Regions from separate parts of the Homo sapiens genome. Here regions 2, 3, 4, 5, 6 and 7 are each linked to region 1. The links are contacts of gene promoters, found by promoter capture Hi-C in blood cells and fetal thymus (Javierre and others, 2016). All regions are on one chromosome and are shown on one strand. The core of a region is centred on a gene start or on the middle of the fragment in contact, and the rest is flanking DNA. Distances in the headings are between cores, read along the strand shown.

Region 1 (3,406 bases), core at 506-3,005:
CAGGATGGTGCCGCGGAGAGTCTTGCGGAAGAACTGCTTGGGTCTTCATAAAGGGACTATTCAAGCAGCAGATGGCTGCCTGAACCATCTGACCGTACAGGCCCTTTATACTCATGAGGTTTTACAATTGTGAGTTTAGGGGTCGGCTCCATTTTTGGGAAGGGGAGCATTGAATGGGGCTGGGCACGAGGAGGCATTCAGCACATCAGCAGGGCTGGGGGAAAGGAAGGGGCTTGTGGTGAACCGGACTGAGGAGGGAGGACCCTCCAAAGTTGGCCTGCTGTCCCCTGGGGCTCCGCGGGGTGGTGACTGGGGGAAAAGAGGAAAGATGGCCCTCCGGACACAGCAGGAATGGGGCAGGTGGAGAAGAGCCTGAGGAGAAGGGAGACAGGGGAGGGCGGGGTGCGGGGGGAGAGGGGAGCGGGAGGTGGCCTTTGTGAGAGACGGAGAGCTGAGTCAGAGCTGTGGGGGGCAGCGGGGAGGGAGAGAGCCGCGGAGAAGGGGTGAAAGCAGAGGAGGAGGGGGTATCCATGGAAATAAACCGGGTCTCAGGGAAATCAGGCTTCTGGAGAGTGAGTTTGTTTGTAATAATAATACGAATTATTCTCTCAGCCTGAGGTCACCGGGAGGTGTAGGCGGGAGAAATTGGGAGTTGGAAAGGGGAAGAATGGGGGAGGGGGTGGGAGAGGGCCGGATGAATTCGCTGAGCGGCGAGAGTGGAGTGGGTGCCTGGGTGGGGGTCAGGGGCGGTAGCCAGGCAGAAGCTGGAGGGAGAAGATGGATTAGGAGGCGCCTCTCTTCCCTCCCCGCGTCAAAGGTAAATAAAGAGCCGGCCCCGCCCCGCCGGCCCCCGCTGACAGGTGCAGGCGGGTCCCCGGCCGCCGAGGCAGGGCCGGCCCCACCCTCCCGGGCCGCGGGCTCCCGACCCCTCCCAGCGCCTCGAAGCCCCCATCTCCTCCCCGCGTCCCCCAGCCCCTTCCCTCCACCCGGCCCTGGCCCTGTCCCTCCGGGCGTGGAACCCGGGCTCATCCCGCCCCCGCCCCAGAGGGAAAACGCACGTGAACAAAGCGAATCGGAGGAGGCAGGAACGACAGTAAAAGGCAACGGAGAGGGAGAGAGAGATGGGGCAAAGCACCCGAGCCAGATGGAGGCGGCGGCGGGGGGTGGCGTGGGGGGCGTGCGAAAGAAACTCGGGGCTGGCGCGGAGGCCGAGGGTCCTTCGCGGGGGGCTGCTCCGGAGTGGGGGATGCGAGGAGGCGCTGGGGACGGCGGAGCAGAGGCGGATGGCCTGGAGGGGCAGGGATGAGGGGACCGAGCGTCGGGCCGAGAGGCAGAGGAGAGGAGGGCGATGGAGAGGATGGAGAGGACCGCGCCTGCGGGAGGGCGACGGGGAGAAGGAAGCGAGCCGAGCGGGATGGCAGCCCCGGAGGCGCAAGACGAGAGCGGGCAGGAAGGAGGGACAGAGGGACCGCGGGCGGACGGAAGGAAAGTGAAGGAGCTAGCAGGGCAAGGCGGGTGCGGAGCGGGGCGCCCGGAGGCGCGAGGAGAGGGATGGGGGAGGGGGTCGGAGGGCGGCCCGGGGGGCCCAGCCCTGCCCCCGCCCGGCCGCGGTACCCACCCACAGTCCGGGAGCCGATGCAGCCCATGGCTCCGGGGGCCGCAGAGCCGGGCCCTCACCGACTCGGGGCGCGCGCCGGGGGGAGCACCGGGAGCCGCGCCGCCGCCCCAGCCGCTCTGCAGCGCCGCGGCTGTCTCCGCTCGGCTCCGCTCCCCCCTCCCCTCTCCATCCCTCCCCACGGCAGCTCCGTCGCCGCCGCCGCCGCCGCCGCCGCCGCCGCCTGGCTCCCCCGCCCCGGCTCGGCTCGCCGCGGCCGGGGAGGGGGCGGCCCGGGGATTGGCTGCGCCCCGCGCCTCCCCGCCCCTGCTCCGGCCGTGCCGGGGCGCTCCCTCGGGGATCTGGGGCCGCCGTCGCCGCCCCCCTCCTCCCGCCCGTGCCAAGCCCCGCTCCCGGGGCTCTCTCCTGGAGAACCCCGGCTTGGGTTTCAGGAGCCGAGGCACGAACCCAGGGCCTACCCCGAGGTTCTGGTTGATGGATTTTGCGGGCCGGGGTCAGGGGATGCCCTGAGAGAAAGTGGGGTGGTGGTGAGAATAAAGCCAGGCCCAAGGGCCTTTGGCCACCAAATTCCGCAAACACTTGTTTTCCTCCTGGGGCCGCATCTGGGACACACACAGGAACGTGATTGGACACAGCTTTGGGCTCTGTTGTTTCGAGTGCGCTATTTTGTCCATCCAAACAGAAGGTGAAGTCTTTGCAAGTGAATCGTGTAGTCCACTTCTCTGTGCTCGCTGGACATTCAGGGGTGGGTGTGGGGATGTGCAGATAGTTGACCTCCAGGCCTGGTTGGGGATTGGAGAATATGAGGAGGACAGTTCATTCGCAGTAGACTAACAACAATGTCAGGACCCGAGGCTGGCTAGGAGACATCGTCTTGAATCCAGTTTAACTTTTCTGAGACGTGATCTTCTCGGACAAATGAAAGCAAGGCGGTCCCGAAGCAGCAAAGAGAGAGAAAGATTGGCCTCTGGCTAGTGGGACTGGGCCAGGTAGATACCTCAAGCCCCATGGGGAGGAGATGAAGGTCTAAGTTGCAAGGGTTAAATGAGCACTGTGGTTACAGCAGGTAAGAAGTGGAGTCCAGAAAAGATGCATGAGAAAGGGCAAGGAGACCCTTTTGTCTAAGGTGTACCCAGAAAGCCCAAAGTGTGAGAGAGTGGGCAGGTGGGCATTCACAGAAGCAAGTGCCCATCCAGGCTCTGACTGCACCTCGCCCACTTTTAGGTCTCTCCGAGGTTGCAGAGAGAGAAGGCAATGGGCCAGGGGTCCCTGGTGTGGGCTCCTAACAGGGAGGCTAAGTCTTATGGATGCAACTTTCTAACCTTTAGATTATGAATGGAGAGCTACATCCCATGGGGTGGCAGATGAAGATGTGCAAGAAGAAGACACTAACAACTGAATTGCAGATTGAGGAGATGAGATTATGGTGACAGAATCCATCTTCGGTGTATGTGCATGAAGAAATAAGCCAAATCTACATCTATAAAACCGCGGGAAGGAATGAGATAATAATCAGTTGCAGGTCTGCTTAGATTTTAATCGTTTAGTGTAGTTCGTGGCAGGGTCTGATACCCTATTTCAATAGTGGAGAGAATTAGAAAGCATTTTCTTTTTTCATATCTACTATTATTGGTTATATAAAAGAAGTATCAAATAGTTTCTGCTTTCATGGAATATACTGTCCAGTCGCAAAGGAAAGAAGATGGAGAGATGATTAAAAAAAAAAAAAAGAACAAACAGCTTCCATTATTCTAGCAATGCCCACACACCCCTATTGTTTGAGCAGAGAAA
Region 2 (3,406 bases), core at 246-2,745, 500 kb before region 1:
ATATCATATTTAGCATTTAATTGGAGCACGATTAATTTTTTAAATTCTTACCAATTTACCAATTTAATTTACTTTTAAGTCATTCTTTTTTTTTTTTTTTTTTTTTTTTTTTTTTGAGACAGCATCTTGCTCTGTCGCCGAGGCTGGAGTGCAGTGGCACGATCTCGGCTCACTGCAAGCTCTGCCTCCCGGGTTCACGCCATTCTCCTGCCTCAGCCTCCCCAGCAGCTGGGACTACAGGCACACGCCACCACGCCCAGCTAATTTTTTTTTTTTTTTTTGTATTTTTAGTAGAAACGGGGTTTCACCGTGTTAGCCAGGACGGTCTCGATCTCCTGATCTTGTGATCCGCCCACCTTGGCCTCCCAAAGTGAAATATTTCATTTTTATAGCAACATAACTCGTAAGCTATGCTTTGTAACCTATGATTCTACAAATCTTTACTTTTTGCCAGTTTCTGAAAACAAAACACAACCTTGATACCTAAGAAACAGTCTTATTTTTGTAAACCAAAGAGATGTAGCAGGCTTGTGGATCTATTGTCTCTACTGTATCAAAAAGATATTAAGTGATATATCTATAAAAGAAGCTGAGAACATATTATAAAGTCATAGACTGCAATTTTTGTTACCTAAAACTTTGTCTAATCCGTCTCGTTTTCTCCACCATTGTTTTATGTTCACATTTCTGCTGCTTCTGGTTTTATATTTTTAAAACCTTATACACATCTGAAATGTGAATATTTTTCTAAAGGAGATAAGTTCTTTTGCACATTCTTGTGTTAGAGAATTTCTAAATACTGACCAGTTCCTTTTGTAAGTCAGAGGAGAGAGGACTCTCAAGCAGGCTGTGAGAGAGGAGCAAGGGGCCTGGCTTTGCAGAGGCTGCTTCCCATCTCTGTGGCAGGAGAAATGTACTGGCCTGTCCCTGGGATGCTCTCCTGGACCAAATGCAGAAGATGCTCCATGCCCACAACCATTGAAGACACCTTTGAAAAATCAAGTTCTGAGTCCTGCTTACTTAGCATTCCAGGCATGTGGAGCAGCCGTGTTCTTGTCACTTATGTTTCTGCCTTTGAAATTGGCTTCAAAAGAATCTGCAGTGGTATGAATTTGCTGACAGCAATTTATTCCATATCTTAATAAAGCTTCCTTTTTCTTTATTTGGATTCCTGCAACAGGGGTACACCCATATTCTTTTTATATATTAAAATTAAAAGTCTTGAATTTATCTGGTTTGTTTGATAAGTAAGAACTCACCTAACTTCCTAGTCTGACTCAGCAACAATTTTTTTTTTCTGAAAAAATGTATTTATAACCTTCAGTCATCTGGATCTGAATCTAAAAGAGGTCCTCATCAAACATTAGAAGTATCCTTCTGGGTACTTTAAGATCCTCAACCATTTCTTTTTAATGAATATCTTTGTTCTTAGTAAAATTTCAAAAAATTGCTGAAGTGGTCATCCACAGGCAGTGTCTCCATTTTCTTCTTTTCTTTATGCTGTTTCTTGATGGCAGAAGCTGAGTGGCCTTAACATCCATGTTTCATAATTGCTTTTGCTCTTTTCTGGATCTTCTGGAGGGAGGCCAGCTTCGTGTTGTCATTACGAGGCATGCTAAGGCTATGCAAGCACGCCCTATTGCAACCACAAGTGACTGTGTTCCTTGTAGTTCGGGTCATCAAAGCAAATATCTTGCTATTCATCTTCCAGAGTGTTCCATATTGGACAGCTGATACTATCTGCAGCGCATCTTTTCTATCTTGCTTGGCTGTCTTTCAAAATAATTCATTGAAATATTTCCAAAATATTTATTGTTCCTTCTTCATGATTATTTGCCTAGTTGTAAGCTTGAGAAGACACAGGGCTTACTGTTTCTTCTTTGTACAGATTACAGAATCCATCCATGTTCTGAGTGAAAGAAAGAGACTATTTTAAAGAATAACTTCTAGGCAAATGGTAAAATAGCCTTCATTGTTTAAAAACCTGCTGCTGGCATTTTCTTTCCCTGATAACAGTATTTCTAAGGACTCCGTGACTCTGGTTTGCTTCAGTGTGTCAAGCACGTCTCCAAATTAAGCCATTGAGAGTTTGGAGGGGATGCACTTACAACATGAATTACTTTAGGATATTTATTAAACAGCCACTGGTGACGGTGCCAAGGTTACAGAATTTAATAGCTATGCCTGCTTTTTACTTCATGATCTCCCCGTTCCTCTCCAAAGCATTTATTTCATCTGTGAAGGATCCTAGTAACATTTCAGACATTTTTGCAAAGAACATTACTTAAGAGCAATTTGCCATATGGAAATGCTCCTTACTTGTCTCCATAGGCTGTAAATTGAACTCTCTATTTCACAAATAGGGTTAAAGATGTATAAAAGGTGAGTTTCAGGGGCTAGTTGGCAGGTGCCCACTCTACATCAGCCCACGCGTATGTAGAAATGGTGTATTTCCATGATAACTTCATGGACAGCACAGCCCGCAGTGCCAGAAAAAAATTAGTAGGAATCAAATTATGATTTTCATATTTGTTGCAATTAAAGTTTCATAGTTTGATTTTTGTTTTATGATAGCTTTCAACAATCCCAAGGCCATATATATCCAGGAAAAACAAATCACAACTTCTCTTCTAATTGGCTTTTTTTTTGTTTTCCTCTCAGTTCTATGTCTTTTGAGCAATCTGGGCAACATGTCTCTTTTTTTTCTTCACAGAAATAAAGGGATTATAGTCCACCCAATTCACAGACTTCTGAGACTCAGACACGAGGAGAGATAGAGAACCGCCAATCTCTAAATCAACAAGCAAAGGAGGTGCCAAGCCTGTTTGTCTTCATTGTGACACTGGAGGTAGCTATTCCTTCTGTTCATTTGCTCGTGAGCTTAGTGGTGTACCTTCTGAAGGCACAGGAAGGTTTTATATAAGAGGTAGCTTACTACATAGTTCTGAGAAGCCATTATGAGGATATGAACACTGTTTTGATTAACTTTACTAAACAGTTATTATCCTATAGTTTTAAAGAAAATTTTAATCAATGATTTAGTTGAAAGAATACACATGCAAGAGTTTAAGAATGCAAAAATTTAAATGGATACAATTAATGAGAATACAATGAAAGTTAAGTCTCCCTTGCACTGGGTCTCAGTCCACTTCCTTTGCCTTTTTCACAGGTTTTGGATGCTCTTCCATAGATATCCTTCCATACATATGTATGTGTATATATCCTTCTTAACAAAGGGGAGCTTACTTTACACTGTTCTCCATTGTCCCACTTTCACTTGGAAATGCTTTTTATATCAGTGCATCAACAGTTGCCCGTATTTCTTTCTAAGGATGTACTATAATTTTACTGTCTTCCAATTGATGGACAGTTAGTTTACAGCCTTTTCTCTTATAAACAATTTGCA
Region 3 (3,406 bases), core at 826-3,325, 470 kb before region 1:
ACACACCTACAGACACACACACCTACACACACACACCTGCAGACACACACACACCTGCAGACACACACACACCTGAAGACACACACAGACACACACCTGCAGACACACATGCCTGCACACACACCTGCAGACGCACACACACCTGCAGACACACACACACCTGCAGACACACACACGCACACACACCTGCAGACACACACATGCACACACACACCTGCAGACACACACACCTACAGACACACACACACCTGCAGACACACACACCTACAGACACACACACACCTGCGCGCACACACACACCTGCAGACACACACACCTGCACACGCACACACCTGCAGACACACACATGCACAGGCACACACACCCCTGCAGACACACACACATCTGCAGACACATACACATGCACACGCACACACACACCTGCAGACACACACACATGCAGACACACACACATGCAGACACACACACATGCACATGTACACACCACATATACACACATCAACATACACACATACACCCCATACCACACACACACACACAACCACCACACACACATGCACACCACATACTACACAGCCCACACACACCACACCCACATGCAGCACACACACAGGCAGCACACACCACCCATACCACACATACACACCACTTACATACCACACACACACAACCACCACACACACATGCACAGCAGACACCATGCAACCCCCACACAAAGCACACACATGCAGCACACACCTACCACACACACACCACATACCGCACATACTACATACCACACACACACCACACACACATGCGTCACACACCACACACATTGCACACACACCATATACCACACACATCATGCACACACACTACAGACACCGCACACACACACACACACACACACACACCCTACCCCCTACACCTCCCACCCCAGGGATGGGGGCGCGGTACGCTGCTGCGGTGCCTGACTGGAGGTATCTGACTGTCGCGCTGGCTCTGCAGTTCCCTGGGAAGCACTTTGTTCTGAAACTCTCCAATGTCCTTTTGTACTCAAACATCCAGCGCATCTGAAGAAATATGCTTCACCCACGGTCCCAATGCACACGAAGTCACTTCAACTTTCATAGGTCAAGAGGTCTAATTTATTGCAGAACTGCCATGCACCTTTCCCTAGAAAGTGACTTTAGTCCCGGATCCCTTTTCTCATCCCAATCACTCGTTGTAGCTCCATCCCTGGGGCTTCAAGCCCTCATTTCCTACCTCCCAGTCCTTGGCCCCACGGAGCCTCCGCGCCCAAGGAGCTTCACACTCCACACGCTTCCTTAGCAAGATCTGGGGGCAAGATCCAAGAGCAGGGTGGTTGAAGGGCTGAGTTGGAGATGAAAATAGGGCACAGGGAGGCAGAGGTGATGAGCAGCCACACCATGCAGCCAGTTTTACCATCTAGATATGCATGTGCACGTTATTTGACATAAATGTATGCATGGTGTATTTTGTGTCAAAATGAATCAATACATGACAGTGATGTTCCAGAGCAATTGTGTGTGTGTGCACGCAGGTGCCTGTTTTCCAGCATCTTCCCAGCAGTCTATAGATTTCAAGACCCACAGGCATTCAGTCCTCCTGGGCCCCTACCCCTGTGTAGAATGCACCCAAAGGGCATACGTGGGCATCTGTATGGCCACCGTCCCCTCTTCTCCATTTCTCCCCACTGTCTGCCAGTTCTCACCCCTCTCCTCTCCCACTCCCCTCCTCAGTGGAAGGTGGGTCCAACCTTGGGAGTGCTCATGTAGTTTACAGCCCCTCCATCACCCTCTCAATGAGTTTGAGTTCCCCAGCCAGAAGATGTCAGGGGAAGGGCTGAGTGCTGATCTGGGGAGAATGGGTACTGACCCTCTTGGGTTTGTGAGAGGAGGCCTGAAGCTTTGGAGGAAGCCCATATGCCCCACCTGCTCTGCCCAGCTGCAGCTAGAATCCCCCTGCCCCCTGCATGGGTCCCCTGACATCTGGTACCCGCAGGAGGATGCCAAGCTCTTCAGTCTTGCCCTGGGCCCAGCCTCTGGTCCTTCTGGCCAAGTTTCCCCCAAGCCTCTTTTTTCTGCCCCTCATCTTTTTCTCTCTTCCTCATGAGACCCCAAGTTCTCCTCCCTGTGAGAACTGGACCCCAATCCTCTTCACTCTACCATACCTGGCCCCATCTCTTCTCTTGCAGGCACAAAAGACAAACAAGAAGAGAGGCTGCAGCCCTTTGGGAAGCTTTACAAGTAGGCTAAGTGTGCCTTGCAGCGGATCGGCTTTCTGGGAGAAGTAAAATGGAAAGAGCAATTGATCTGTAATAAAGACAGCTGCATTCTAACCCCAGCTGACCAGAAATCACTTGGTGTCCTTGGCCAAGTCACTTACATTTTCATTTCCTGATCTACAAAAATAAGGACTCCAGATATTGAGTGCCCCTGTTCCCTTTTCCATTCTCTGCTATCCCAGGTAGCCCCCCTCAGCTTCCAGCTATAGGCAGGATGGAGCTCAAAGCTTCATTGTGTCAGAAAGGGCTCATCTCTCAGGTTAAGCCTGACTGTCTTTGTCTCTGAGTTACACAGGAAGGAGAGAGCAGGCCGCAGGCAGAACATGAAGACACAAAGCCTCTGATTCTCCTCTGACCTTCCGAATGACAGGATTCTGTGGTCCAAGTAGCTCTGGCTGAAGAGAGGATGAAGCTCCTGAACCATGGTGATTCTTGGAGCTCTGGAAAGCCACAGATATGGAGGGGACAACGTGCGTGTTCCCTCTGACAAGGCGGGAGTGGGCTGGCTCCCCAATCCAGGGCAGTGTCCCCAGACTCTGGACTCTAGGTCACCAACAGTTTTCACTCCATGAGAACCTGGCTGTTGCCTCTTAGCCAGAGAGTGGGGAAAGGAGGGTATGTGGGGGCCACTAAGCCCAGAGTAAACAGCATTATTTGGGGCTCAGAAGACAGGAACAAGCCTTTATCCCAAAGCCCATCATGGCTGTTAAAAATTCAAACCCAAAGCAGAATTCTTTTCCAGAAGCATGCAGTCTGCTCACCATAGCCTTCTGGGCAGCAGGCCTGCAGGGGTGGCATTTGATTGCCAATCTTCCCCTGGTTGTCCCCACCTGCACTTCTTATTCTTCTCTCTTCAACCAACAAACTCAGTGAAAGGGCAGACAGTGAGAAGAACTCTATTGAATTCTATTTAAGGCAAGCAGTCACCCAAACACCCCACCACCTCCTTAAAAAAAAAAAAAAAGCAAAATGCCAGACTTGGTTAAGAGTGGAGGATGGTTTAACATGTACAGACGGCCGGGCGCGGTGGCTCACGCCTGTAATCCCAGCACTTTGGGAGGCCGAGGCGGGCGGATCACGAGGTCAGGAGATCGAGACCATCCCGGCTAAAACGGT
Region 4 (3,406 bases), core at 315-2,814, 450 kb before region 1:
ATGTTCTTTTAAAGCCTGCAGTTTTGCCTGGCACCAGGAGCCTCACAGAATACAACGTGAGTGGGGCCCTCGGAGCTGCGTGTTGCATTGCACATCCTCATTCTTTTTGGAGTTTGGAGCTTCTAGAAATGATCTCACAAACACGATGGGAGAGCTTGCCTTAGAAGAGAGGTCAAAAGAGAGCCGAACAGAGGAATGGATGTAATGTATAAGATGTGGATCTGCATTCTGGCCAGATACCTCTAAAGTTAGTTTAATTCTCTAAACTTCCCATTTATGAGGACTAACACATCCTCTTCCCCCTGTTTAAAAATCTGCAAGTCTGTTTGAGTTTGGTTTTCTGTCCCTGTAGCCAAGAGTCCTAATTGCTACTAACCTTGACCTTCATCCTTTTCCCTCCTTCCTTTTAACTACCTAGTTCTTGCTCACCTTTGGGTTCTCATCTTAAATGTTGCTCCCTCAGGAAAGCATGTCTTCACTTCCCAGTCCGATTCCTCTGTTGTATCCTCCTCTTAGCACCTTACATTCTCTATAGCACTTTTGCTGCTGTAATTTTACAGCTTTTTGTGAAGTCATTCACTTCATGCCCGTCTTTCCAACTAAACCGTCAGCTCCATGAGGGCACATATGGTGTCTGTTGTGTTTATGCTCATGTCCCTAGCTCCTAGGCATTTGTCAACACATAGCAGGGTCTAAATGATCATCATTAAATGAATGAAAAGTCTAAGGGAAAAATGATGGCTATATTCAAATATTTGAATGGTGCTTATATGGAAGAATGTGTTCTGTGATATATGAGAGGGAAAGACTGGCGCCAAAGAATGAAATTTTAAGAAGATAGGTTTTAGCTCAATGCGACATAAATGTCTAATAACAAAATCTTTAAAAATATGGGAAAACTCCCTTCCTCCCAACCTCTACCTGAATTTGCAAGATAATAAGGTACTAATCAGCATTAGAGAAGATATTGAATGACATTCTGACCAATAAATGATTATTATGTTAAGTAGGAGGTCAACTTGAGGGCCATTGAGGGTCACTTCTAATTCTAATATTTATCAGTCTATGGTGATATAAAGAAAAGATCATAGAGAAACAGGGATTTACAGAAGCAAATAGAAGATAAGATCCAAATTGAAAACTGGAATATACCAGAACAAGGTCACTTCTAGTTCCCACTGGACTCAAGGATCAATCCTAGGTCTACTTTTCCCCTGTGAGCAACAACCCCACCTCTTGCCACTATCGTCCATTTAATCCTCCTTCTGTCCCTTCCATTTATCCACATGTACCTCAGGTTTACACAAACCTCTTCTGAGGTGACAGCCTCACTGGGTTTTTCTGTGACTCTTTTAAGAATGATCCACCATAACATTTTCCACTTTGATTTTTCTCTCCAACCCCTGCTTCTTAGCAAGACTAACACAAATAAACTCACCTGGGCCCTCCAGAGCTCATCCCTCTCCTGGGCCACCCTCCAGTGGGTGTCGCCCATCATGGCGATGAACAAGTTGAGCATGAGCAGTGTGGCAATGATGGTGAAGGCGAAGTTGACAATGCTGAACATGAAGGGCAAGTCCACGTCGTAGTTGGCAGGTGCATCAATAACAGTGAGAAAAAGCTCAAAGGTGGTGAACAGTGCCATGGGGTAGTCATAGAATTGCCCCAGACTGGTTGGGTCCTCTGTCTGGAAAATGATATAGAACGCTGCTCCGCCCAGGAAGAGGACATGGAGATGGGATAATGGAGTTATCACAATAAGCATGGACATGGTTAGCACTTATTCTATCTCTGATCTATCTATCTATCTATCTATCTATCTATCTATCTATCTATCTAAATACACTTGCACACATGCACAGATAATTACATACTAATAAATGTAGTTTCCTGTGGAACTGTCTAACCCTAAGATGTCCTATGATTAAGTTCACCACTCTGGGTAATGGTCATGGTAATAGTCATTTAACAACAACAAAATTGTGTGTGCAGCGTGTGTGTTTGTATGGATAATGGATAATAGGTCACCTAACTGGTTTTTGCATTTTAGAAAACCAAATACTTAAAAGGCAAGTTATTACAAGAATGTATGGAATCCTCAACAATTTTTAAAGAACAGAACACATGAACAGGCTAAAAGAAGAGCCCCTTTTTTAATCTTGATGGCCTCTAGATAACCCTCCATCACTCTGACCTTCCCTGAGTGAACCTGAACCAACATAGGAAACGGATTCCTGCTTAGGGTGGAGCCTACTGGATAGCAGTGAGCGTAAGGGAACTTCAGGACAGCGCTGGACTGCTTGAAAGCCTCCTCACTGCATAGGGAGCTGAAGCACATTCTGAGAGCAGAAACAGGGTCTATGACAAAGCATTGCCTCCTTATTTATTTAAGAGAAAAGCAAGTGCAATGGCCAAGAAGTGAACATTTAGAGAGTTCTGGATAGAGGACATCTACAGAAAGCCACTCTGGGACCATCACCTCATTTTGTAATCTGTGTTATGTATAGATGTAGATGGCCAGGGAGTGGGAGGAAAGGGTACATAAGGGCTTGGGGTGGAAAACTCCAAACAGGCAGAACGCCATGGTTTTACTCTTTCACATTTCAGATTTTGGTGGGGGTTTTGTTGTTGTTGTTTTGTTTTGTTTGTTTTTTGTTTTGGTCTGTTGTTTTGTGGGAATCCCCATTGAACGGGAAATCCCTGAGGACAGTAATAGAGTCCTCTGCACTGAGTCATTGCTTTTTAGAGATGGGGGGATCCTTCTAGTGCCTCTTCTTGTCTAATAGATGGTCAGTTGCAGACACTGAGGACTGAATTTGAGCTACTGGCCTTTTGCTTTTCAGACCTGGGCCTTCCTCTTTCTGCCCCTCCCTAAGGACTTTCTTCTGCTCCTCCACCCACCCTCTCCTTCCCTCTGGCTGTTTCCACCTGCCTGTGTTTTCCTGCTGTGCCGTTCCTTTCTTTTGCTCCCTGGCACTTTCACTGGCTGTGCCTTGACTGGGTGCCTGTGTGTTCCTGTTCTCCCAGTCTCTCTTCACAACTCTTCTTTTTTGTTTTCTCTGTCATCTTCAAACTGTCCAAGCTGTTTTTCTGCACCTCCTTTTTCTAATTCTTTCATATTTTTCTCAGCTTTAAATGACCACATATAGAAAAAAAGCAAGTTATATGTTGTTGAGTGCTTTAGGTTTCCTCTTCTGAATTGTAAACATAGGAGAGTTAAGCATGGCACTATCTCTGTTTGTCCACATGGTTTTCTGAGATCCATGACTGGCCAGTCTTTCCTGTTTAATGCCCTGTTCTCACCAAAAGTCTTTTCCTGTCTCTCCTTTAAAGATCTTGCAAGGCAGTTAGTGAACATAAATCTTATTGGCCCTGAACACATGGCTTTACGTTCCAGGCCAACCTG
Region 5 (3,406 bases), core at 607-3,106, 430 kb before region 1:
AGGGCACTTCCATCTGCGGTCCCCCTGCTCCTGGGCCTGCTGAATCTACTGTCTTTAACCAAGGGGAGTTTGGGAGACCAAAACACAGAGGGAGGAGGAATGGATCGACTGCTAGATCTTTCCTAGGCATTTTGAAATTTGTGAAATTTGTGAGGCACTAAAGTTCTGACTACTCCCTCAGGCTATTTTTTTTTTTTTTTTTTTTTTTGAGACAGAGTCTTGCTCTGTTGCCTAGGCTGGAGTGCAGTGGTACAATCTCAGCTTACCGCAGCCTCTGCCTCCCAGGTTCAAGCAATTCTTGTGCCTCAGTCTCCCGAGTAGCTGGGATTACAGGCACGCACCACCACGCCCAGCTAATTTTTTGTATTTTTAGTAGAGATGGGGTTTTGCCATGTTGGCCAGGCTGATCTCGAACTCCTGAGCTCAGGCAATCCGCCTGCCTTGGCCTCCCAAAGTGCTGGGATTACATTGCGCCCAGCATCCTCAGGTTATTTAGATACAGGTCCCTGCAGGGGGTGGAGAGTTGTGGGGTGAGTTACAGGGTGCCTCTTTCTTCTGCATTATACCCTTAGATGCAAAGGTCTAAACAGCTTGTTTATGTGGGTGTCTCAAGGCAAAACAGGTTGAGATACTCATTCTACAGGACCTCTGTTAATCTTTGCTTCTACCATACCCAGATTTGAACCCAGAAAGAGATAAAGCTGGAGCCTCTCCAACTAGACATATGTGTATTGGCCCCAAAGGCAAGCACATGGTGTAGGGGGAAGAACAGAAAGGACAGGCCGATGAGTGGCTCCTCTGAGGTCCCCACCTCCAAATCCCTCTCTTCCAATAGCCCCAGGAGCCAGGGCGAAAAAGTGTTTTTATTTTATTTATTTATTTTTTTTGAGACGAAGTCTCACTCTATTGCCCAGACTGGAGTGCAGTGGTGCGATCTCGGCTCACTGCAACTTCCGCCTCCTGGGTTCAAGTGATTCTCCTGCCTCAGCCTCCCGAGTAGCTGGGACTACAGGTGCCCACCACCATGCCTGACTAGTTTTTTTATTTTTGGTAGAGACGGGGTTTCAGCATGTTGGCCAGGCTGCTCTCGAACTCCTGACCTCAGGTGATCCACCCATCTCGGCCTCCCAAAGTGCTGGGATTACAGGTGTGAGCCACCACGCCCAGCCAAAGTGTTTTCATTTAAAGAAGAAGCTTTTAATCTAAAGGTGGGGCCTGGTTTTACCTGTTAAGGCAGTGCTCCTAGGAGGGGCCTTTGTGAGGAGTCAGTTCCCTGCCCCGTCTCACCCAGGGAATCAGTCCCAGGGAGCCTGGTGTCCCTGACCAGCCTAGAGTGGTCAGGGCTGAGATTGCAAATTCACCCCCATCCTGAGGCCACTGCACAAACAAAGTCCTTGCCTCCCTGGCCCTCTATCCCCACTGCCCCTCTGCAGAGGGTCCAAGTTGGGGCTGGAAGCTCACTTTCTCAGAGACCCAGGGGTCCCACTCTAAAGCAGGAAGGTGAGATTCCACTGGAGGTATTGGGTGGGGAGATGAGGAAGCAGAGGGCTTGACAGTATGAGGGCTCAGAGGTACTTGGGACCAGGCCCAGTGTAAACTGCAAATGCAGGACCCCTTGTTCAAAATTATTAAGAACTTGAAGATGAGGACAGCAGGGCATTGAACAAAGCACAGGAATCTTCTGGAGTACAGGGGAGCCCTTTGTGACTGCTAATGTCTGCTCAACAACCTCACCCCTCAGGCAGCTGTTGGGTGGGAGGCAAGCCCCAAAACACTTGGAGGAAGAAGCAGCCCACAGGATTCGTCCCTGCCCCAGCTGCTCTTCCTGGGACTGGACCTCAGGGCTAAGCCATGAAATGATTTACCTGCAGGTGTGCTAGCCCTGCCCGAACTAAGAGCTCTCCAGGAGCAGGCACAAGTCTCATTCAATCTTTATGTCATTGGGATCTAACACCCCTCTGCACACAGTAGACTCAATAAAAGGCAGATGGACTGAACTCAGAGCCCTCCAGTGTCACCTGAGCTGCCCTCCTCCACTGGTCAGCACCCAGTGTTACACCAAACAAAGCGCTCCTCCCCTTTCCCACACAGTCCACTTTCATTCAAATGAATGGCGTTTCCTTATCGTGCTTCCACCACCCACAGGAGTGCATCCCTTCTTCAGCAGCCTGCTTCTGCCTTCCCTCCCCATCCCACACAACCTGGCTTCTTCCCTCTGGTCCTTTTTGGTCCTTTCACTCCCCCTTGGCTGTCATTCTGCCTCTGTCCTTAGGTCTACCCTCAAGATTTTCCTGTGTGGCCCAAAGCCACATCCTCCACCGCCACTAAAAGGGGCCAGCTGGGATTCTGTAATTAGGTGGGCTGGAAGGAAAGGGTATGTCTGAGTGACTGGCACTGACAATACACTTCTAGGGTGCTGTATTCGGAAAGCAGGCCCAGGTGGGTCAGAGGGTCTGAGGATCACGGCGGTAGGGCCACGGATCGTTCTAGGAAGCCTACCTCTTCTGCTGCAGCATATGAAGCTTGTCCAGGTGCTGGTCCCAGTCTTGTTCTCTGACCAGAAAGGAGGGCAGAAGTTTCTGGAGTTGGCTCCCGGGCCCTTCTGCCTTAGGTAGAAAACCCCCCATGTCTTCTCCTTGCAGACACTGGCAGATTATAGAAATGTGGCGAAAGAAACAGGTCTAGGATGACAGCAACTGAGCAAGAGATGGGGTCTATTTGGGGCTGGGACTCTGAGTTTATCTCCTGTATGACTTGTGTATGCAGCATGCAGCTTGTAGGTGTGTGTGTGTGCATGCAGTATGTGGGTTGTGGGGTGTGCGTGTATGCACAGTGTGTGGCTGTGGTGTATGTGTGTGCATGCAGTGTGTGGTTGTGAGGTGGTGTGTGTGCATGCAGGTGCGCTGAGGGGACTGACCGCCCTGCCTGGGGAGAAGTGCTTTTCCTGGAGGGGGAGGAGCTCTTTGCAGAGCTGAGCCCCACAGCCACAGAACCACCCTGGGGAAGAAAAGGAGGAGGGGAAGGAAGGTTCCTAACTGTGGGCTGGGATGGCTGAGACCCGAGAAGCTAAGAGGTGGGGCAGAGGAATTTGGAAAAAGAAAAGGGATGGAAGGTGGGTCCACAAACAAGGTGCACAGTTAGTTGCATGAGGGAGAGGAGGAAATAAAGACTTCCAGCTCAAGAGTCAGGCAGAGCCTGGTTCAAATCCTGACTCTTATCCCTTACAGTTAGGTGAGCTTTCTGAGCCTCAGTTCCTAACCTGTGAAATTGGGGTAACGGCTATGCCGTCTCACGGGAGCATCTGTAAAGCATGTGTCACAAGTACTCAATCACTGCCGATCCTCCTTCCACAAGAGGGCTCAAGAGACCCCCGGGCTGCTTCTCAGAGCTTCCCATTTATGTGTCT
Region 6 (3,406 bases), core at 536-3,035, 360 kb before region 1:
GGTGTATGTGTCCTTTTGTACATATCTCCGCACCCTCGCATCCTCGTGTAAGTACATTTAGAAAAACAATTCCTGGAAATGGATAGCTGGGTCAAAGAGTATGCCAGCAATAGTCCTAATCACTCTGTTAAATGGTTAATCATTATGTTACCACCTCTTTTATTCTAACCTGTCCTAGATTAATGACTGCTACAATTCCTCTCATTTATTTGCTAAAACATATTACCCATTCTTTAAATTTTGACTGTGATTGTTGGAGTCATTCCACTGTAGAAAAGTTAGAAGTTTCTCCTGAGCTCTTATAAAGTTGTTTTCTTGTACAAGAATAATTTTCCTGACTCCCTTTTTGCATATCTACTGCCAATTTTTGATACTGATGTTTTCATTTGTGTTCAATAGAAAAAGAAATCTCTGACCAATTACTCTGGCATTTGGTGATATCTTCAGTTAAGCATTTAAAAATATACTCCAAAACACCACCAACCTGAAATGTGTTATTCCATTTTCCAGAGACTCTAAGTTTTAGACTTAATCATCAAAAGTTTTTATATTTTATTTAAATGTTAGGCATGAAAATCAGTCTTAATAGATTCTATTGAGCATACCTGAATGTCTTCTTGGTTTCTCAAGACGATCATTAGGATGCCACTGTCATATATACATGATCTCAGAGAAGGTTTGCTCCTGCACTAAATGAACAAAAATGTCTTAAGTCCTTTGGTCAGCTTTGTACAGTTGGTTTTTAATTTCTCTCAACATGTCTCTTGATTGAGAGCTAACACACTGCTTGTTGTTTTCAGTAGACCTGTCTTTTCTTATCTCCTTTCTATGAGTAAATCATTTTATCAAGCTTATTTCCAATAAATAAACAAACAGATAAAAGGGACTCTAACAGACTTCCTGTGAGTAAAGTGGCTAAGCTTTATGTGGTTCATGGACTTTGTAACATTTATTTTGTCTGCTTGCTGGTTTATTTTGCTATTTTCTGATTCCTAGCTATGTTCTAGAAAGACTACATAGTTGAGTTTTGGATTAATAAGATATATATGTTAATTATAACACTTAGAGAATCAGGATCATATAGTACCCCAAATACAGATGTTTTTAAAAGTGCCAGAATATCAAAAGAAGATATAACTATATTCAAATATTAAAGCATCAAAGCATAATATACTTCCATGGTTCAAAATTTTAAAGGATACTTTGAAACACTTTTCTATCTGATCCTCCTCCCTCAAGGCAACCAATGTTATCACTTTCTTCTGTGTCTTTACAGAGGTAATTTTAAGCATATACGTCTGCATAAGCAAATGCATACAAGCACATTTTCTTTTTGTACAAATGGTAGTATATCGAACATATGTCCTATGCAGTACAGATCATTGTATATTTATACATAAGACATTCTTGGTTCTTGTTTCCTTTTTTAATAACTCCAGATTATTCCACCAAATGGAATACATACATTATTTCCCTGTACACAATATCTAAATGACAATTTCTAGAAGAGGAATTGCTAGGCCAAAGCGTAAAAGCATTTGTCACTTTAATATATATTACATAATTGCCCTTCATGCAGGCTATTACATTTTACACTACCTATTTTCACGCAGTGTACTATAAAACTTTTTGACATTTGCCAGTTTAATAACTGAAAATAGTATCTTAATATGGCTTTAATTTTTATTGTTCTCCTTATGAATGAAGATGAAAATATTCTCACATGTGCTTATCTTTTGCCCATTTTTCTGCTGAGTAGTTTTATTTTTTTCTTATAGGAGCTTTTTACACATGATGCAAACTAACCTTTTGTGATATGAGTTGAAATTGTTTTCTGGTGTTTTCGTGTGTCTGTTTACCTTGGGGTAGTATTAACCATAGCAAATTTTTAAAAAATTCTTCATAAAGTCAATCTTCTATGACATCTGTGTTTTAAGTCATCCTAAGAAAGGTCTTACCCATTTTTATAAACATTCTTTTATTTCTTATGTTAAATCTATGTTTTTTTTTTACATTTAAATATTTGACCCATTTTAAACAGCCTGGTATGACATAGGCAGTAATGGAATTAACTTTTGTTTTTTAGGTAGCTGCTAGTTTGTTTGACCATTTATTGAATAATTCATTTTTTCCCAATGATAGTACTGTTTACATTATAGCTATATAGTCTGTTTTACAGATGTAGTTATTCCTCATTATGCTTCTATTTCAGAATGTTTTTGAAAATTTTTTGCTTGTTTATTTTTCCATAATAAAAAGTTTAATCTAAGCTGGGCACGATGGCTCACATGTGTAATCCCAGCTATTCAGGCGGCTGAGGTGGGAGGATCACTTGAGTCCAGCAGTTCAAGTCTGTAGTGAGCTATGATCATGCCACTACACTCCAGCCTGGCTGACAGAGCAAGACTCTGTCTCTAAAAATATAAATGAATGAAATAATGCATGAATAAAATGTAATCTGCTTCTCTAGATTTAAAAAATACTATTGATTTTTAAATTGTGATTGTATCATTTTTATGGATACACTTAGAGGAGAATTGATATCTTTGTATTGTTTACTCCACCTTTCCATTTGCTCAAATCTACTTTTGTGTCTTTCAGGAGCATTTTTTTAAATGTCAATCTAGTTTAAATGTAAATCTTTACTTGTTAAGCTTATTCCTAATAATGTTATATTTCTTTGCTTTTGCTTTTGTAAATGAGGTTCTTTCCTTCCATTATATTTTCTAACTTAATGTGTTTTATATGTGAAGTCTTTTGACTCTCAATATAAATTTTGTGCCCAGCCACATTGGTTTTTTACTTTATTTTGTTGAGATTTCCAGATAAACAAATTATTTAAAATTCATGTTAATCTTTTTTTCTCCTCCTTTTTAACATCTTGGCCCTGCATTTTTTTTCTCTTGTCTAATTGCATAGGCTAACATGCCAGAAATTTTAATTAGTTTACATAGAGATGCAGTACATAAATTTAAATTGAAGATCTGTCATTACATAAGACAAAGGGTATGTGTGTTATTATTTATTTTAGATTGGTCCATCCTCTCACCAGGAGCTCAGGCAGCTGTTAAACTCTGGAAAGAGGGCCTAAAAAAGATAGGGGTATGGATAATGGAAGCCCTGCATAAATTCTAAGCAAAGTGGCAGAAAGCACTTTCTAACCCACCATCCTGCCTCGAGGGAGGGCAAAGACTGATGTTAATGTCTTTGCTGACCTCTTCTGGCAAATCTGAAGTTAGCCAGAAGATGGAAGATTTGATTGGTTATTTTTTTCACTTCGATTTCATATGATCACAAAGTCCCTGGGTTTGCCTGATTCGCCTGTTTGAAAAGATTTTTCAATATCCCAGAAGTTGTTTTTAAAGTCCACACTTTCTTTAACCTCTCAGTATTCTTCTTTTCTTCC
Region 7 (3,406 bases), core at 638-3,137, 350 kb before region 1:
TACCCTAATTCTGGAAAAGAGCATCCAAGTATTTATGTAATGGTGAAGAAGAGAAAACAAATTTAAAATCTGGTCATTTCTCTAAGAATGGTATTTAGTGTTAACCATATGAAAGAAATTGCCAGTAAATCTAGGGAAAAAGGGTATATGTATGTATGTATGGGTGATTTTGTGGAAAACTGTTCAAAACAGTTTTGAACCGTGCAGGTTCATGGCCTTCAGAACAATAAAAAATAAATTCAGGAGAAAAAGTTGCAAACAAATTGTTTTACCAAGACCACATGGTCCAGGCATACTGGAAATAATGACCAAGAGATGAAGAATTATCCCTCATACAAATATCTATCTGGTTAGGCCAAAGAGAGAACAACATCAAAAACAGCTGTGATAACACTGTGAAGATTTCAAAATATCTCACAAATTTAAAGTATTCTACTGGTTATTGTTTCTGTGTTAAACCCAATGTGTATACCCAATCTAAATACCCTGAGCCCAAGATAACAGCAATGCATGACTAAAGGAATGTGTAGCATATGGTTCACTAAAGACCACCAAACATCTCGACCTCCCAACCAGATTAACTGAACCCCTCAGACTTCAAGCTCAACCGAAGAAGAGGTTTGTTCATGTCCAGATTTTAAGTGTTTTTCTTAAATAACTGTTTTCACAATTATCCTTGTTTATCTGGCCAGACAGTCTGCAGAGCTTCCCTGTCAATCATAGTTGCTTTAAATCTGCTCACCAATAGTTACAATGTCTGGATCAGCTCTGCATTGAGTTCTGTTGTTTTTTTCTCTTGAGAATGAATTGTTTCCTTGTCTCAAATTTTTTTAAAAAAGGCTGTAAATTGTATGTAGAACAGCTGAAAAACAATCCATTTTCAAGAGTAAAAAACAATGGAACTCAATGCAGAGCTGATCCAGACATTGGAATGATCGGTGAGTAGCTTTAACACAACTATGATTGACAAGGAAGCTCTGCAGACTGCCAGGCCAGTTAAACAAGCATAATTGGTGAAAAAAAGCATTTAAGAAAAGCACTTCAAGTCTCTGGAAATTGTACTGAGAGCATACAGCAAACAAAGAAAACATTTACTTAAGAAAATCTATCAAAGCTTGGTCAGAAGAGTGAGAGTCTATGATATTTGAACTACAACCCACTACCTTCCTCCCACCTCCCAGCTCATTACGATAGGAAATCCACTCCAGGCACGTGCAGCCAAGAGCACTGGGCTTCTTTACTATCAGCTCCCAGTCAAGGGCTCTGGTATCTTCCCAGAAGGGGTAGGTAGCCAAGCATTGCTCATCCCTCTCTTTTCCATGTACACATTGCAGAAATTAATTTCCAGGAGAGGAAAGACGAGAGGTCAGAGACTTCCTGCTATTACCCAGTCCTCACTCATAGGGCAGGGGACCTGGCTCGAGAGAAGCATGCTGAGGATGCTAGGATCCCACTCATCCTCACTCACAGAGTAGAAGCTCTACACCAGAAAAGGCAAAGCAGGAAGTGCAAAGCTGCTACCCCTGTCTGCCACCCTGAAACTAAAGCAGAGTTGTCACTTAGTGAGAGCTGCACCACCATCCTCACCCCCAGCTCAAGAGCTATGGCTCAGATATTTTGCTCAGGGGAAGAGCCAGGCCATAAAACAGAAAGCTCTGAAAGAATTCACTTTGTTTGAAAGAGAGGGTAGGAAAGTTCAAGTCCAACGAAACTCTCAAAAACAATGAAGGTTTTAGTGGAAGGCAAAGAAGAAGGCTGATACATTCATGAGAGGTAAGAAATAAATTATAGACCAGATAGATTAACTGGGAGACCCTGAGAAAGAGAGAGCTAAGAAATCTGACCTCAAAGCCACTGCTATAAAGGAATCCAAACTTAATTGTATCAGACTATGGAACAATTTACAACCCAGGCATTATCAAAAATAATAGGACCATCAGCTGGCAATTAGTGGAGCCTAACAATTGTGTGTGATCAGTGTGACAGTCAAAGAATCCCTATTAAAATCACTATTACTTCAGGATCTGCATACATAACCAAGACTGCACCCTCTAAGAGCAATGCTAGAGAGTACACACAGCCAGGGAAATAGTCATGTATCACTTAATGGCGGGAATACATTTTGAGAAATGCATTGTTTAGTGATTTTGTCATTGTATGAAAATCATGAAATGTACTTCAACAAACCTAGATGGTACAGGCTAGATGGTATAGCCTAGTGCTCTTAGGCTACAAACCTGTACAGCATATTACTATACTGAATACTCTAGGCAATTGTGACAGTGGCAAGCATTTCTGTATCTCAACATAGAAAATATATGTTAAAAATACAGTATAAAAGATAAAAAATAGTACACTTACCATAAACAGAGCGTGCAGGACTAGAAGCTGTTCTGGGTGAGTCAGTGAGAAATGATAGGTAAATGTGTTGACCTGGGGCATTGCTGTACACTGCCTGCTGTAGACTTCATAAACACTGTGCACTTAAACAACACTACAGTTTCTTTCTGAAATAATAAATAAACCTCAGCATATTGTAACTTTTTTACTCTATAAACTTTTTTTAACTTTTGGACTCTTTTATAATAACACTTAGCTTAAAACACAAACACATTTTACAGCTGTACAAAAATACTTTCTTTCTTTAGATCCTTATTTTATAAGCTTTTTTCTATTCTTAATTTATTTTTTACTTTTTAAACTTAAAAAAGAAAAACGAAGACACAAACACACACATTAGCCTAGGCCTACAAATGGTCATGATCATCAGTGTCACTGTCTTCTACCTCCACATCTTGTCCCAATGGAAAGTAGTCAGTGGCAATAAAAAGCATAGAGCTGTCATTTCCTATGATAACAGTGCCTTCTTCTGGCATAACCTCTTGAAGGATCTGTCTGGGACTGTTTTATAGTTAACACCTTTTTTGTAAGTAGAATGAGTATATTTTAAAATAATGATAAAAAGCATAGTATAGTAAATACATAAATTAGTAAAATTAGTATTATTGCCAAGTATTATGTACTGTGCTATACTTCTAACTCTATGTGCTATACTTTTATACAACCACAGCATGGTATGCTTGTTTGTTTATACCAACATCACCACAAACACATGAGAAACGTGATGTGCTATGATGTTACAACAGCTACCATGTCATTAGGTGATAGGAGTTGTTCAGCTCCATTATAATCTTATAGAACCACCATCTTACATGCAGTCCATCATTGACTGATATATTGTTATATAGTGCATGACTATAAACAAATTGATAACCAAATTACAATAATAATCCCCTGGAAGTGAGATAACAGTATCCATAGTGATACAATATAATATCTAAAATGTGTAGTTTTCAACAAAAAATTACAAGATATGCAAAGAAACAGGAAAGTGTGACTCATACAC

What was found. The method cuts DNA at HindIII sites, captures the fragments that hold promoters and counts their contacts. A CHiCAGO score of 5 or more calls a contact.
Region 2: a contact is called between a fragment that was not itself captured here and the fragment with the promoter of FAM131B in region 1, in 7 of 17 cell types (M0 macrophages, neutrophils, activated CD4 T cells and 4 more). The highest score is 7.6, in M0 macrophages.
Region 3: a contact is called between a fragment that was not itself captured here and the fragment with the promoter of FAM131B in region 1, in 1 of 17 cell types (neutrophils). The highest score is 5.2, in neutrophils.
Region 4: a fragment that was not itself captured here is called in contact with the fragment with the promoter of FAM131B in region 1 in 1 of 17 cell types (neutrophils); the score reaches 7.8 in neutrophils.
Region 5: a fragment that was not itself captured here is called in contact with the fragment with the promoter of FAM131B in region 1 in 1 of 17 cell types (neutrophils); the score reaches 6.8 in neutrophils.
Region 6: a contact is called between a fragment that was not itself captured here and the fragment with the promoter of FAM131B in region 1, in 6 of 17 cell types (neutrophils, monocytes, M0 macrophages and 3 more). The highest score is 9.7, in neutrophils.
Region 7: a contact is called between a fragment that was not itself captured here and the fragment with the promoter of FAM131B in region 1, in 1 of 17 cell types (neutrophils). The highest score is 5.9, in neutrophils.

Annotation. Positions count from the first base shown.
Region 1 is chr7:143,360,958-143,364,363 of GRCh38, forward strand. It overlaps FAM131B (family with sequence similarity 131 member B), which reads right to left and starts at 1,756. Exons shown (of 7, transcript NM_001031690.3): 1 at 1,619-1,756. The coding sequence starts at 1,646. FAM131B-AS1 (FAM131B antisense RNA 1) reads left to right here and starts at 749. Exons shown (of 3, transcript NR_183342.1): 1 at 749-1,100; 2 at 2,233-2,300; 3 at 2,944-3,308. The HindIII fragment of the contact is 5,612 bases long and covers 1-3,406 here.
Region 2 is chr7:142,858,339-142,861,744 of GRCh38, forward strand. EPHB6 (EPH receptor B6) reads left to right here. Exons shown (of 20, transcript NM_004445.6): 2 at 2,714-2,848. Among named protein-coding and RNA genes, the nearest start is that of EPHB6, 5.0 kb to the left of the region's middle. The HindIII fragment of the contact is 701 bases long and covers 1,146-1,846 here.
Region 3 is chr7:142,890,380-142,893,785 of GRCh38, forward strand. No RefSeq gene overlaps it. Among named protein-coding and RNA genes, the nearest start is that of TRPV6, 6.3 kb to the left of the region's middle. The HindIII fragment of the contact is 333 bases long and covers 1,910-2,242 here.
Region 4 is chr7:142,911,044-142,914,449 of GRCh38, forward strand. It overlaps TRPV5 (transient receptor potential cation channel subfamily V member 5), which reads right to left. Exons shown (of 15, transcript NM_019841.7): 13 at 1,439-1,707. Among named protein-coding and RNA genes, the nearest start is that of TRPV5, 21 kb to the right of the region's middle. The HindIII fragment of the contact is 4,505 bases long and covers 1-3,406 here.
Region 5 is chr7:142,930,833-142,934,238 of GRCh38, forward strand. TRPV5 (transient receptor potential cation channel subfamily V member 5) reads right to left here and starts at 2,914. Exons shown (of 15, transcript NM_019841.7): 1 at 2,500-2,914. The coding sequence starts at 2,627. The HindIII fragment of the contact is 1,328 bases long and covers 1,193-2,520 here.
Region 6 is chr7:142,999,092-143,002,497 of GRCh38, forward strand. No RefSeq gene overlaps it. Among named protein-coding and RNA genes, the nearest start is that of OR9A2, 26 kb to the right of the region's middle. The HindIII fragment of the contact is 1,734 bases long and covers 919-2,652 here.
Region 7 is chr7:143,015,727-143,019,132 of GRCh38, forward strand. No RefSeq gene overlaps it. Among named protein-coding and RNA genes, the nearest start is that of OR9A2, 9.7 kb to the right of the region's middle. The HindIII fragment of the contact is 1,550 bases long and covers 1,113-2,662 here.